Regions from separate parts of the Homo sapiens genome. Here region 1 is linked to region 2. Evidence: promoter capture Hi-C in 16 types of primary human blood cells and fetal thymus (Javierre and others, 2016). All regions are on one chromosome and are shown on one strand. The core of a region is centred on a gene start or on the middle of the fragment in contact, and the rest is flanking DNA. Distances in the headings are between cores, read along the strand shown. Region 1 holds the start of NELFCD (negative elongation factor complex member C/D). Region 2 holds the start of VAPB (VAMP associated protein B and C).

Evidence for each region. The method cuts DNA at HindIII sites, captures the fragments that hold promoters and counts their contacts. A CHiCAGO score of 5 or more calls a contact.
Region 1: a contact is called between the fragment with the promoter of NELFCD here and the fragment with the promoter of VAPB in region 2, in 6 of 17 cell types (monocytes, naive CD8 T cells, non-activated CD4 T cells and 3 more). The highest score is 7.8, in monocytes.

Annotation. Positions count from the first base shown.
Region 1 is chr20:58,976,577-58,983,614 of GRCh38, reverse strand. NELFCD (negative elongation factor complex member C/D) reads right to left here and starts at 2,359. Exons shown (of 15, transcript NM_198976.4): 1 at 2,246-2,359. The coding sequence starts at 2,305. RefSeq lists an enhancer at 1,601-2,101 and a silencer at 2,024-2,503. The HindIII fragment of the contact is 8,660 bases long and covers 1-4,956 here.
Region 2 is chr20:58,387,206-58,394,337 of GRCh38, reverse strand. It overlaps VAPB (VAMP associated protein B and C), which reads right to left and starts at 5,109. Exons shown (of 6, transcript NM_004738.5): 1 at 4,821-5,109. The coding sequence starts at 4,878. RefSeq lists silencers at 4,581-4,700, 4,961-5,400. The HindIII fragment of the contact is 12,509 bases long and covers 1-7,132 here.

The DNA.
Region 1 (7,038 bases), core at 1,110-3,609, 590 kb before region 2:
ATCTCTACTAAAAATACAAAAATTAGCCGGGTGTGGTGGCACCGGCCTGTAATTCCAGCTACTTGGAGAATCACTTGAACCCAGGAGGTGGAGGTTGCAGTGAGCCAAGATGGCACCACTGCACTCCAGCCTGGGTGACAGAGTGAGACTCCGTCTCAAAGAAAAAAAAAAAAAAAAAAGGCCGGGTGCGGTGGCTCACGCCTGTAATCCTAGCATTTTGGGAGGCCGGGGCAGGCGGATCACCTGAGGTCAGGAGTTCAAGACTAGCCTGGCCAACGTGGTGAAACACTGTCTCTACTAAAATACAAAAATTAGCCGGACATGATGGCGGATGCCTGTAATCCCAGCTACTCAGGAGGCTGAGACGGGAGAATTGCTTGAACCCAGGAGATGGCAGTTGCAGCGAGCTGAGATCAAGCCACTGCACTCCAGCCTGAGCAGCTAAGCGAGACTCTGTCTCAAAAAAAAAAAAAAAGAAAAAAAGGCTCAAGGTGATATACTAGATGCCCCAAACACCAACCTACCACTAAGCTAATTCACACCTTCTCATCTGGACCACTTTGGTAGTCAGCAATTTGACGAAGTGGCAACGGAGGCAAAGGATGTGGGTTTGGGTCCCCTCTCCTTCCTTTATTAGTTTCATGACCTTGGGCAGGTCAGTAAGTCTTTTCGTCTCATTTTCTACACTTACCAGATAAGTAGGGTAACACCCAACTCAAAATCCTGTGTGTGGAAGGGGATAACGCATGACACACATGGCCCAAGCTCTCAGTTAGCTAAGTCTGACTCTATCCACTCCACCCTAAGCCTCCAACACTGTGAAATGATCCAACATGCAAATCTACTCGTGTCACTCCCTGCCCCAAACTCCTGAACAAGCCATACCATTCAGCAGCTCTCCAAGGATCTTCAGAACCTGCTCCCTACTGACCTCCTGCCACTGCTTCCACCAGGCAGCTAACATCACAGGGCTTCTTTCAGTTCCAGAAACACATCGCCCGCCTTGGCATTTTAGACCATGGCTCCGAAGCCGCCATCACACCACCACCCATGTTTATCAACGTAAGCCCCACTTCATCCTTTATTCCCTTATAATACCACTTCAAAATGCACCAGACATCCCCAATCTTGATTGTTGTTAAAAATGCAAGTTCCTGGGCCACGAGCAGTGGCTCACGCCTGTAATCCCAGTACTTTGGGAGGCAGAGGTGGGTGGATCACCTGAGGTCAAGAGTTTGAGACCAGCCTGGCCAACAAGGTGAAACCCCCTCTCTACTCAAAATTTTAAAAATTAGCTGGGCATGGTGGTGGGTGCCTGTAATCCCAGCTATTCGGGAGGCTGAGGCAGGAGAATCGCTTGAATCCGAGAGGCAGACGTTGCAGTGAGCCGCGATGGCGCCATTACACTCCAGCCTGGGCAACAAGAGCGAAACTCCACCACAAAAAAAAAAAAAAAAAAAAAAAAAAAAAAAAATGCAAGTTCCCAGGCTCCCGTCCAGACCAACTGTTGGGCCGTCTCCAGGGGAGGGACGTGAGAAGCTACATTTCAATCATGCGCCTCAGTTGGGTCTTTAGAGTAAGGTGGGGACACACTGTCCAGACTAGAGCTACCTGCCCTGGCTCTGCAGTCCCTGTCCTCAGGGTGGAACAGTGATCCCTCCTGGGCTTCCACCCCAAACCCTGGAAGGTCAAGGCCCGAAAATCCTTTCCATCAGTTTGCCCAAAAACAGATGAAATCAGCCCAAGGTGCTGAAGAGTACAGTTTATAAAACAGTAAAGCACATGTAGGAATGCCCTAAGTTCTACTTTTTCCTCATGATGCTGCTGTGAAGTTTTTCCACTTTATTTTTGTTTAAAAGTCTGTGAGCTCCGGACCCAACCCTCCACCTTAGCGTTGGTGTCCCGCCCGCCGCGGGGGTCGCAGGGCCGGCGCCGGGCCTGGCCGGAGCGAGGGGGTACTGGGGGCCTCGGGCCGCCCCGCGCCAGAGCCTCCGGCGCCTCACCCCCACCCCAAGGTCCTGCAGGCGAGGAGGCGGGGACCCCGGCGGCCGCGCCGCGGGACCCCGGGCGGGCGGGGGCGGGGCGGGCTGTGCTTGAACCACACGGTGACCGCGCGGGCCGTGCGCGCGCACACCCCCCGCACGCCCGCAGCCTCGCGCCGCGCGGCCTCTCCGGGAGTGGGGCCGGCCCGCCGGCGGCGGAGACGAACGATTCTCTCTAGGGTGCGCCCAGTGCCCCGCCTCACCTGGCCGCCGTCAGCCTCGTCGCCCCACTCGGCCGCGCTCCCGTAGTAGTCCTCGTCCATGATGGCGCCCGGCACGGCCCCCGCCATGCCCTCCCGCGAGCGAGCGCGGCGCATGCGCGAGGCGGGGACGGGCGGGCGGGCGCACGCGCGGCCGCGCGCCTCGGCCCGGGCGGGAGGCGGGGCCTGGAAGAAGGGGCGGGGCCTGGAGGAAGGGCAGGGCCGCGGGCTCGGCACTGGGAACAAAGGGGACCGGCGGAAGGAACGCCCCCAGTCGATCCCGGAGCGATGCCCGGGTGGACCAGGGGCTTAGCTCCGGAGAGAGGTTTCCCACTGGATTCGTGCACAGCCCCTCCCCTGCGGCGCCGGCTCTGCGAGCCCCAGTTTCCTCATCTGGCAGCTGGAAACAAATCCTTCCGGAAGTGTCCAGGACCCACGAAAGTGTTTTAATTTCTTTTAGTTTTGGTAAAAAGTACTAAACGCGACCGGGCGTGGGGGCTCACGCCTGTAATCCCAGCACTTTGGGAGACCGAGGCTGACGGATCACTTGAGGTCAGGAGTTCGAGGCCAGTCTGGCCAACATGGTGAAACCCCGTCTCTGCTCAAAATACAAAAATTAGCCGGGCGTGGTGGCATGCGCCTGTAATCCCAGGTACTCGGGTGACTGAGGCAGGAGAATCGCTTGAACCCGGGAGGCGGAGGTTGCAGTGAGCCAAGATCGCACCATTGCACTCCAGCCTGAGCGACAGAGCGAGACCCTATCTCAAATAAATAAATACATACATAAAAAGGGCAGGGCACGGTGGCTCACGCCTGTAATCCCAACACTTTGGGAGGCCGAGGCGGGCGGATCACCTGAGGTCAGGAGTTCGAGACCAGCCTGGTCAACATGGTAAAACCCCTTCTCTACTAATAACACAAAAATTAGCTGGGCATGGTGGCGGGCGCCTGTAGTCTCAGCTACTCAAGAGGCTGAGTCACGAGAACCGCTTGAACCCAGGAGGTGGAGGTTGCAGTGAGCCAAGATCACACCACCGCACTCCAGCCTAGGCAACAGAGTGAAACTGTGTCAAAAAAAAAAAAAAAAAGAAAAAGAAAAAGAAAGAAAGAAGAAAGAAAGAAAAGAAAAGAAAAAAGAAAAGAGAAGAAAAAGTACTGAATGCAGTGGAAAGTAGCATTTTTAATTTTTTATAAAGTGGAAGATAGGCCCACAAAGCAAAAGTGCCCAGAGCTGACAAAAATCTCTGGAGAAAGGACCTCTCTGGTCGTTGCCAAAGGGAGCAGCTGACGCTGTTGTAAAGCCCGCAGCTCGATTCCCAGCGTGAAGTAGGGGGTGAGAATATGACAGCCTCCTGATGATCACGGAAAGGTTTTTGTTTGGTTGTTGTGTTTTTGTTTTGTTTTAATTTTAGATTCGGTGCGTGTGCAGGTTTGTTACATTGGTATATTGCGTGATGCTTCTAATCCTTTCGGCAACTTTTTCAGCCTTTACCCCCCTCCACACCTTCTGCCTTTTGGAATACCCCATGTCTGTTGTTCCCATCTTTGTGTCCAAATCACAGAAAATTTTAAACAGGGAGATTAACGCCATAAAATCTGGATGCTTTGAAAGGTAACGCCCGTGGCTGAGCGCCGCGGCTCACACCTGTAATCCCAGCACTTTGGGAGGCCAAGGTGGGAGGATTGCTTGAGGCAAGAGTTTGAGACCAACCTGGGCAACATAGCGAGACACCGCCCCCCCCCTTCCCCCGCCCCCAGCCAGGTATGGTGATGCACGCCTGTAGTCCTAGCTGCTCGGGAGGCTGAGGCAGGAGGATTGCTTCAGCCCAGGAGTTTGAGGTTACAGTTTGCTATGGTCGTGCCATTGCATTTCAGCCTGTGTGACAAAGTGAGACCCTGTCTATAAAGAAAAAAAAGAAAGGTAATGCCCATGTCAGTAAGGAAAGAGTATTAGAGAAAAGAGCTCCAGAAGATTGATAATAGTGACTACTTTTGGAGAACTTATCAGGGAATATGTCTTCATTTATTCAACAAATGTTTATTGAGTGTTCCCTAAGTGCCCAGCACTGCGCTGCTCCCTGGAGCTCGGTGAACAAGTTGGACCTGATCCTTGTCCGGGTAGAGCCTACATTCTACTGAAGGAGCTGAATGGGGGGAGGGGGTGGGGGGAACAAATAAGATAAAGACAGAAGGTGATCAGTGCTAGTATTCTGTGATAATAGAATCTTCTTGGGGAGATCAGAGATGGCTGCTGAGCAGCTTACATTTGAACTGAGTCATGTCATGAAAGGGGCAAGCTAGCTAAGACCCAGGCAAGAGCATTTCCAGAGAGCAGAACTGCCAGGGCAAAGGCCAGGCATGCGTACTTGGAACAGAAAGGCCACTGAGAGCGGCACCTGGCAGGCCAAGGAGAAATCTAGATGAGGTGGGCAAGGCAGGGAGGGCCAGATCTTGGGAGGGAGTTAGGTCTGTATTAACTGAGGGCCATCTCTAAGGATTGAATGTAATGAGGTATGCCAAGCACTGAGCAGAGAGCTTGCACATGGTAGGTGCTCAGCAAGTATGCATCATTATGAGGAAGATGAAACGTTTGGATTTTTTTTTTCTTGCTCTGAGCGGGTGAAAGGACATATCTGAATTTTCAAAGGCATTTCTCCTAGCTGAGGGGGCCTTACAGAAGGAAGTGAGAAGGTGAGAATGTAAATTAAGAAGCTTCCGTGAGCATTAATGGAGGGGGTTGCTGAGAAGGAGCTGTGGCTAACTGCTGTGAAGTTGGGGTCAAGTCCAGAGGATACAACAGCCTTGGGGGTGGGAGATGGGGGCCAGGAACAGGGGCAGGGAAGATGCTGCTGTGACCCCCAGCTTGTGTGCCTGGGGATGGCCCATGGCTGAGACAGGGAACCCAGGAGGAGGGCAGGTTTCTCCATGGGATGATAATGAGTTCATTGGGTTGTGCTGAGTTAGAGGTGCCAACAGAACACCCATGCGGAGATGTCCTGCAGGTGGTTGGAGGTGGAAGTCTGCAGCTCCGATTCAAAGGATCCAGCTCCAGCTTCTATTCACAAGATTAAAGTGTATTAAGTTAATGAGTGCCCCTGCTGTTGGCTTGTTTCAGGGTTCATTTTCACTTGCTTTCTCAAAATGTTGGAAAGAATAGATGGCTGTTAAACTCCTCCTACCTCTCCTCTTAGATTTTTTAAAAAATAGTGCCAGAATTGAAAGCGGACCAATTAATGTATGTATAACTAATTGTGCCTACGGAATTGGGGATTATTCAGCTCACTTCTCCTTCAACCAACAGGTTGGTTAATCCATTTATTGTTAAATGGATTAACAACCCGTAATGAAACCATTACATTCAGCCTATAAGTCACAATGATTTAAAAGTAATTGGGTCAGCCGGGCGCAGTGGCTCAGGCCCGTAATCCCAGCACTTTGGGAGGCCGAGGCGGGTGGATCACGAGGTCAGGAGATCGAGACCATCCTGGCTAACACGGTGAAACCCCGTCTCTACTAAAAATACAAAAAAATTAGCCGGGCATGGTGGCAGGCGCCTGTAGTCCCAGCTACTCAGGAGGCTGAGGCAGGAGAATAGTGTGAACCTGGGAGGTGGAGCTTGCAGTGAGCCGAGATCATGCCACTGCACTCCAGCCTGGGTGACAGAGCGAAACTCTGTCTCAAAAAAAAAAAAAAAAAAAAAAGTAGTTGGGTCTATAGGTCTTGCCTCCTGAGATATTGTGGATCTGTTGTTTTTTCCAAAGCCTTGTCTAGATTGTCCAGATTAGCTTGCATTGCTTAAATACTCCTAAAGTCATTTAAGTTCTAAAGTCATTTTCCTGTTTAAGAAGAATTCTGGGCCGGGTGCGGTGGCTCATACCTATAATCCCAGCACTTTGGGAGGCCAACACAGGCAGATCACTTGAGGTCAGGAGTTTGAGACCAGCCTGGCCAACATGGTGAAACCCCGTCTCTTCTAAAAATACAAAAATTAGCCAGGTGTGGTGGCGGGTGCCTGTAGTCCCAGCTACTTGGGAGGCTGAGGCAGGAGAATCGCTTGAACTTGGGAGGCAGAGGTTGCAGTGAAGTGAGATCACACCACTGTACTCCAGCCTGGGTGACAGAGCAAGACTCTGTCCCCTGACCCCCACCAAAAAAAAAGAAGAAAAAGAAGAATTCTGGTGGAGAATTTTTATGAAAATTAGAAGTTGGTTTCACTTAATCCATTGAGGAAATACTTACTGAGTGCCTACTAGGTGTCAGGTGCTGGGATATAGCTGAATCAGAGACACAATTCATCTGGTGCTAATGGCAAAAAAGGAGAAAAGAGAAGCTATCTCTAACAATTTTTTTTAAAAAATGCAGCGACCTCAGAAAGAGGTCAAGAAGTCCTTTCCAGGGAAATTATGTTTAAGCTGAGACTTGTGACTTCAATCTGGAGGACAAAGAGAATAGGGTACAGTGGAGAAAATAAGAAATGACAGTAAAGAAAATGGCTGGAGTGCAGACATCAAAAGGAGAGAGAGAGACAGTAAGGGGAGAGAGAGAGAGGCCAGACCAGAGAGAGAGAGAGAAAGGGAGAAAGAAAGGGCAGGCCAGAGAGAGAGAGAGTAAGGGAGAGAGAGAGGACATGGGGCCACCACGTCCTTAGTTACAAATACCAGACACCTGGAAATCATTTGTAACTTCTGTTCCCCCATGATTCCTATTCAACCCAAGGCAAATTCTGCATCAGATCCACGTGCAAAATCTACTTCAAATCTATTCACTTGTCTCCATCGTTATGCCACTGTCTTAGT
Region 2 (7,132 bases), core at 3,860-6,359:
GATTTTTTAACTTCCTAAACAATCTTAAATTACACATCAACTTGAAGGGCTGAACTAAAGAGTCTAAGCCAACTTTTCCCATACAAAAAACAAAACAAAACAAACAACGTCCTTAAACTATCATTTAGAGTGTCCAAGTTTCTATTTTCTCCCAAAAGTGGTACTCAACTACACTGATTCATTGGTGCCCTCCCATCTGAGATCCCTACTAATGGCAGGACTATCTAAGACTTCTTGAAGGTCATTGGTTCAGTCAAGCAATAAAGCAAAAGTAAATGCATCCACAGTTATGTTTAAACCTTAACCGGCTGGGTGCAGTGGCGCACACCTATCATCCCAGCACTTTGGGAGGCCGAGGTGGGTGGATCACCTGAGGTCGGGAGTTCGAGACCAGCCTGACCAACAGGGAGAAACCCTGTCTCTATTGAAAGTACAAAATTAGCCGGGCATGGTGGCGCATGCCTGTAATCCCAGCTACTCGGGAGGCTGAGGCAGGAGAAGTGCTTGAACCCGGGAGGCGGAGGTTGCGGTGAGCCAAGATCGCGCCATTGCACTCCAGCCTGAGCAACAAGAGCCAAACTCCATCTCAAAAAAAACAAAACAAAACAAAACAAAACAAAACAAACCTTAACCTAGTGAGGATGGATGTTCAACAGACCATTTCCATGTGACAGTATCATTGCTGGGGGAATGGGCTAGGATGTAAGGAATGATCTAGAGTCCTGAACGACCAAAAAATATATGACATACTATTTACCACAGATGGACTCTCATGGAAGGGGAGGGAGAAGGGAATGAAAGAAGAGTGCTATATAATGCCTTGAAAGTGACTCATTCGGAAAGCTCTCTTTGAGCTGGACAACAAGTGGGATCTCAGAGTGAGGAGATGGCAAGGAAACGATTAGGACTTGGAAGAACTGAGATCAACAGAAAGAGTGACAATTTTAAAAAACTCCTATGACTTAGTGAAAAAGACAAAAAGAAATATAAAAGAAAACACACACTTAGGCTGCATGCAGTGGCTCATGCCTGTAATCCCAGCACTTTGGAAGGCTGAGGCGGGAGGACTGCTTGAGGCCAGGAATTCAAGACCAGCCTGGGCAACATGGCAAGACTCTATCTTTACAAAAAAATTTAAAAATTAGCCAGGAATGGTGGCATCTGTAGTCCTAGCTACCAGGGAACCTAAAGCAGGAGGATCTCTTGAGCCCAGGAGTTTGAGGCTACAGTGAGCTATGATGGCACCACTGCCCTCCAGCCTGGGTGACAGAGCAAGACCCTGCCAAAAAACAAAAACATTTACTCTCTCAGAAAGATACCCCTAGTCTGAAAGAGCTTAATGTTCACTTACTAAAAATATCTCATGAAAGTCAACCTTAAGTCTAGGCAAATCCTCCTGTGTCATGCTTCTTTCAGGAAGCCACCAGGCTTTCTCCTTTTGATATTTATGATGCAGCATAGTACTTCCTATAAAACTGCATAAAGTCATATAAATTTGCATTCTTTTTCTTCTGTAACATCCTTAAATTTAACATACCACACAAAATTCCCAAGATTAAAGAGTCTGACAATATACAATCCCATACGATCAACTTAGGCTGCATTTAAAAGATAATTTTTCCTTTGAATGGGCATTTTAGTTATTACCTTCTCAAGTAAAGTTAGCTCAGAGGTTCATCTAGGTGAACGACCAGAAATCAGAGTCGTCACCCTGAGTAACCTGGAAGAAACCAGTTAAATGTGCCATTTCTCATCCTGAAATGAATTATCTCTAAGTCAGGGTATTCAGTCTCTATTAATTGTACTGTCTTAGCATTCAGTTTAAAACAAACAAACAACACACCTCATGACGTCATTTAAGAACACACACAGATGTCTCTTCTAAAGTTATGAGCCAGAGGCCTTCAACAATTTGGTACCACTTCTCTTGGACCACTTCCCTAGCAAAAATATCCAGTGACTTTGGCATAATTACTTTGGCCAATCCAGGGCCAGAATGATCGCTATTCTCTGCCACACCTTTCAGGTACAGAAGTGATGAAACCACTTAAGTAGTTAAGTGGTTGTCTAATCTCTGTATAGTACTATGCACTTACAAAGCCACTAACAGCCATGTCATTCCTTCTAAACACGTTCTACAAGAGGCAACGTGGACACGAGCATCATCCCCATTGACCGAATAACCACCCCAGGCTTTGAGGAGTGAAGTGGCCTAAGGTCACACATCTTTCAGTAAAACAATTGAACAAAATCTTAAATTTTCTCAAATGAGTGCCTCTTTCCATAACATATTAGACAACAGAGTTTGTACTGGGATTTGGGGGTTTTCAGAAAGTTAATGCAAGGAAGGACTGCTCAAGGAGAAGCAACACAATTTTAACTTGGACACTGGCTGCATCTATGCATAAAGGGACTGAGATCTGACTCTTGTCTACTCACCAGCCTTGTCTCCCATCTTGCCAGGCAACCACAACAAATGTTCTTTGTTGCTGTCATTCAGAACCACTAGTGGTGGCCGGGCTCACGCCTGTAATCCCAGCACTTTGAGAGGCCAAGGAGGGCGGATCACTTGAGGTCCGGAGTTTGAGACCAGCCTGGCCAACATAGTGAAACACCGTCTCTACTAAAAATACAAAATTTAGCCAGGCGTAGTGGCACATGCCTGTATGTAATCCCAGCTACTCAAGAGGCTGAGGCAGGAGAATCACTTGAACCTGGGAGGCAGAGGCTGCAGTGAGATGGCGCCTCTGCACTCCAGCCTGGGTGACAGAGTGAGAACTCTATCTCAAAAAAAAAAAAACTACTAGTGGCATCCCAAAGGAGCCCAGTCATCTCAGTGTTTGTGCCTCTGTGCATGCAATTTCCTCTGTCTGAAATGTTCCCCACCCTTTCCTTCTTTGAGCCTTCTTCTACTCGACCTTTATAACTGAGCTCAAATGACACCTCTTTCAGGAGTTGACCTCCTCAATGCTCCTGGAGCACTCTGGACTACCCTACATCATTGTCCTGTCCTGGCTGTTATTCTCATCTGCCCCCTTCCCTAAAGTACTGGGAGGAGGTTGAGGGAAAATAGGAGAGTACAGCTGATATAACTTGGCTTCTCTGGGTATCTGACACACAGATCAGGTACTCAGTAAATGTTTGTGGACTAACCGAATGAACCCACCAATTATCAGGAGAAGCCAAGCCAGGCCTCCCAGATAGAGAAAGAACTTCAGACAACTCAAGTGGAAACTAAGGCTCACTATTTTCACTTTAGCTACCTGGACTTCTTTCCCAATCTGGCATCCCCAGAAGGCCATGAGAACATCATGAAAGCTCAAGTACTATCCTGGAATTACAATCCACGGTAGGTTTGGTGGGGTTTTTCGGTTTTTTCATTTTAATTGGAAAGCCTTTGGTTCTCTGTAAATTCAGAGTTATTTCACATTGTTAACTTGGAAGGCAAAGTGACAGCCACCGTTCTGGAGTATTTCCCAGCGATCAGACAGCAAAACGGTTAAGAGCGTGAACTCTGAAGTCTGGGTTCAAATGTACCATTTGCCAACTGGGTAACTTTGGGTAAGTTACCCTACACTACTTCCCAATAGGACATATAAACTGGAGAGCCTCTGGCCATTCATTCATTCATAAATACCAACTGAGCATCTACTGTGAGTCCGGTGCTAGCGATATAGTGGAGACCCGGCCTTCCAATCTAAAGTACGCTTCCATGGAGTCAGACTGTTCCATTTCCTACACAGCACTTAGCACTATCTGCAATGATCTTGTGTGTTGGTTTGTCTGTCCTCGTCGGAAGGTAAGCTCTGTGAGAGCAGAGGCCTTATCTGTCTTGTGCATCCATCACCTCCCCAGAGCCTCCCACATCACTGGATACACGCAAAAAGAAAGAATGAGCATGTCAGACAAGAACTTTTACCTCGTGGCCCTGGTGAAGGTAGGAAAAAAAAAAAAAAAACAAAAGTAACAACATAGAAAACATAAAGGCACAAATTACAGAGGTAATAGTATCTGGGAGAAACCAGGGTCATGGCTTCCCATCGCCGCAGGTGTTGCTCCAGACAGCTCTGCGGAGAAAAAGGATCCCAGCACCGTGGCAGCCTCCTTGCACCGCAACCAGGAGACAGCATGAGGGACGCAGTGAAAGGAAAATGGGCCCAATCCCATCAGAAGTCCTGAGGAGGTTCATTTGTTGGTTCAACATGTTCATCTGTTGGTTCAACAGGTATTTATTTACTAGGCGTATAATGTGTGCTGGGTACACAGCAGCGAACTGACAAGAGCCTGTCCTCATGCAGTTTCCCTTCTAGTATTGAAACAGTGATTTTGGGTATGAAAAGTGCCGTGCTGACCACGAAACAGTGACGGAATAGGGAATGACAGCAGGTGTGCACGGTGGCTGGGTGGTCACAGCAGGCCTCTCTGAGCAGCTGACACCTCAACTAAGCCCTGAGGTCAACACTGTCACGGAGCAGGGGAAGAAACTTCTAGGCAAAGGCAGCGGCGGAGGCTCACACTAGAGAGGATCACAAACTGGTAAGTTACAAAGTGACAAGTGCCTCGAAGGCAAGTCCCAGGAGGCTGGGGGTCGGGGAGGAGGCGCAGGCCCCGGCTCCCGCACCAGCCCTCTCGGGTCCCGGCCACTCCGGGCAGTTCTGGGGAGCGCGGCGAGCGCCAAGGCCCGGCCCGGCCTCGCCGCCCCCCGCGACAGCGCCGTCGGGGTGGGGACGAGGGCCGACGTCACCCGCCGCGCCGGGCTCCGTCCTTCCAGCACTGGGGCGGAGGCCGCGGGCAGGAAGGTGGCGGCCTCTGGGGCTTACCTCGGAATTTGAGCTCGTGCTGCGGCTCGAGGCTCAGGACCTGCTCCACCTTCGCCATGTTCCTTAGCGGCGGAGCACCTTTGGCGGGGAGACCCCTGAGAGGTCACCGGGGCGGGAAGCGTTAATGCTGCGCCCGCTTTAAGTTTTACAAAAAGGCGGGGACCGGTCGGGGCACGGGCGGGGGTCCTCTACCGGGTGGGCGCGCTGGGGGGGGGTCGGTCTACGCGGTGCAGGCGCAGGGGCGGAGGGCGAGGGCGAGGCCGCGGTGCCCGGCGAGCTGACGGCACGCACGCACGCACGCACGCACGCAGAGTCGTACACACGCACGCACGCAGCAGGCTGGCCCGCTCTGGCGGCGGGAAGCTGCGCCCTGCGCCGCCGGCTCCAGGGGCGGGGACTAAAGCTGCGCGCGTAGAGCCCCTTCCGGGACAGTGCGCAGGCGCGGCACAAGCCACGGGGGCGGGACTGCGGGGCAGTAAGGGGCGGGGCTTCGGGCCGCTCAGGAGGCGGGGTCTGTAGTCCAGCTACGACAGCCACCGCGGAAACTATTAAGGGCCCGCTGGGGGCCAGCTTCGTGTTAAGTGCTTTATTCAATAATAACAATTAGAATAAACTTCCACTTTTCTCTTGCTTATGTAGTGCCAGGCACTGTTAGAGACTTTGAATAATAGTGAAAGTACTTAGTATAAGTATAATGTTTATGGGTGAGTGATATGGGCTAGGCACTGTGACGTCTTGTAAATAATAATTATAAATATAATAAACTACCAATTATTGCTTATTTATTTTGTATCACTCTACTGAATGCTTCCAATAACAACAGCAACTACAATAAATACAAGCTACTCTACGTTAAATGTTTACTATGCAACTGGCACTGTGCTGAATTCTTTACTAGTAAATTCTATTTGTTTATGCAACAAATATTTAGAAATACAATGATCAGAAAAGCGAACCTGATTCCAATCCTTTTACTATAGCCTAGTGAAGAGACATCTTTTGAATAAATAACCACACACGTAAGTTAAATAATTAAAAATTGCTGGAGAATCCAGATCTGCTTGACCTCAAAAGTGGATACTCTACATCATGATTACCGTTTAAATTGTATTTCATTATATTATGTTTACTATGGAAGTTAAATAGGTGTTCTTAATAGTCTCCTATACATACCCATATAGGTGAGACAAATGTGGCAAATTGCTAGCAATGGCTGACTCTACATCGCAGGTATATGGTTTTCTTGTACTGTTTCTCCCACTTTGCTGTATACTTGAAATTTTTCATGATAAAAAGGTTTTTTAAAAGAATAGTCTTTGTATTTTAACTGGAGCATTTAGTCCATTTACATTTATTATATTTACTGATATATCTGGAATTATTTCTACCATTGTATTTTGTTATTTCTATTTGTCCTGCCTGGTTTTTTTCCCCTTTCCTTTCTTCTTTAGGGTTTATTTTTATTCTCATTCTGATTTTCTTCACCTGTATACTCTATTTCTAAGTTTTAGTGGTTACTTCAAACTTTTGGGCATGCATACTTACCTTGTGAAAGTCCAATATCTTTAAATATTTGTAAAAATGTCTTTACCCTGTTTCCTTAAAATATAAAGACTTTGGAGTACTTTAATCACCCATCCTCTAAATTATACACCTTAATGTAGTGTATGTTAAGTTTAACCTTTGCCACTGTAACCCCAAGAGACATTACTAAATTGTTTTATTCAGTCAACATTAGTTTAGATTCAGCCACACAATTACCATTTTTATCCACCTTTTCTTCTTGCATCTCAGCTTTCACCAACAGGATCACTCTCCTTTTGCCTGAGGTAAATCCTTTAAATTTTATTTTTTTGTAGCTTCGTTGGTGCAAATCCTCTCAGTTTCTGCTCATCTGCAAATGGATTCATTTTTGCCTTTTGTTGTTTTTATTTTATTTATTTATTTATTTGGAGATGAGGTCTTGCTCTGTTGCCCATGCTGGAGTGCAGTGGCATGATCGTGGCTCACTGCAACCTGTATCTCCCAGGCTGAAACAATCCTCCCACCTCAGACTCCGGTGTAGCTGGGACTAAAAGCATGCACCACCACGCCCAGCTAATTTTTTTATTTTCTGTAAAATCTCACTATGTTGCCCAGGCTGGTTTCAAACTCCTGGGCTCAAGTGATCCTCCTGCTTCAGCCGCCAAAGTGCTAGGATTACAGGCATGAGCCACTGCGCCTGGCCTTGCCCTTGTTCTTGACAGATATTTTGGCTTGCTTGCTTGAATGACAGCTGTCCTCTCTCAGCACACTTGATTGCCATCCACTGT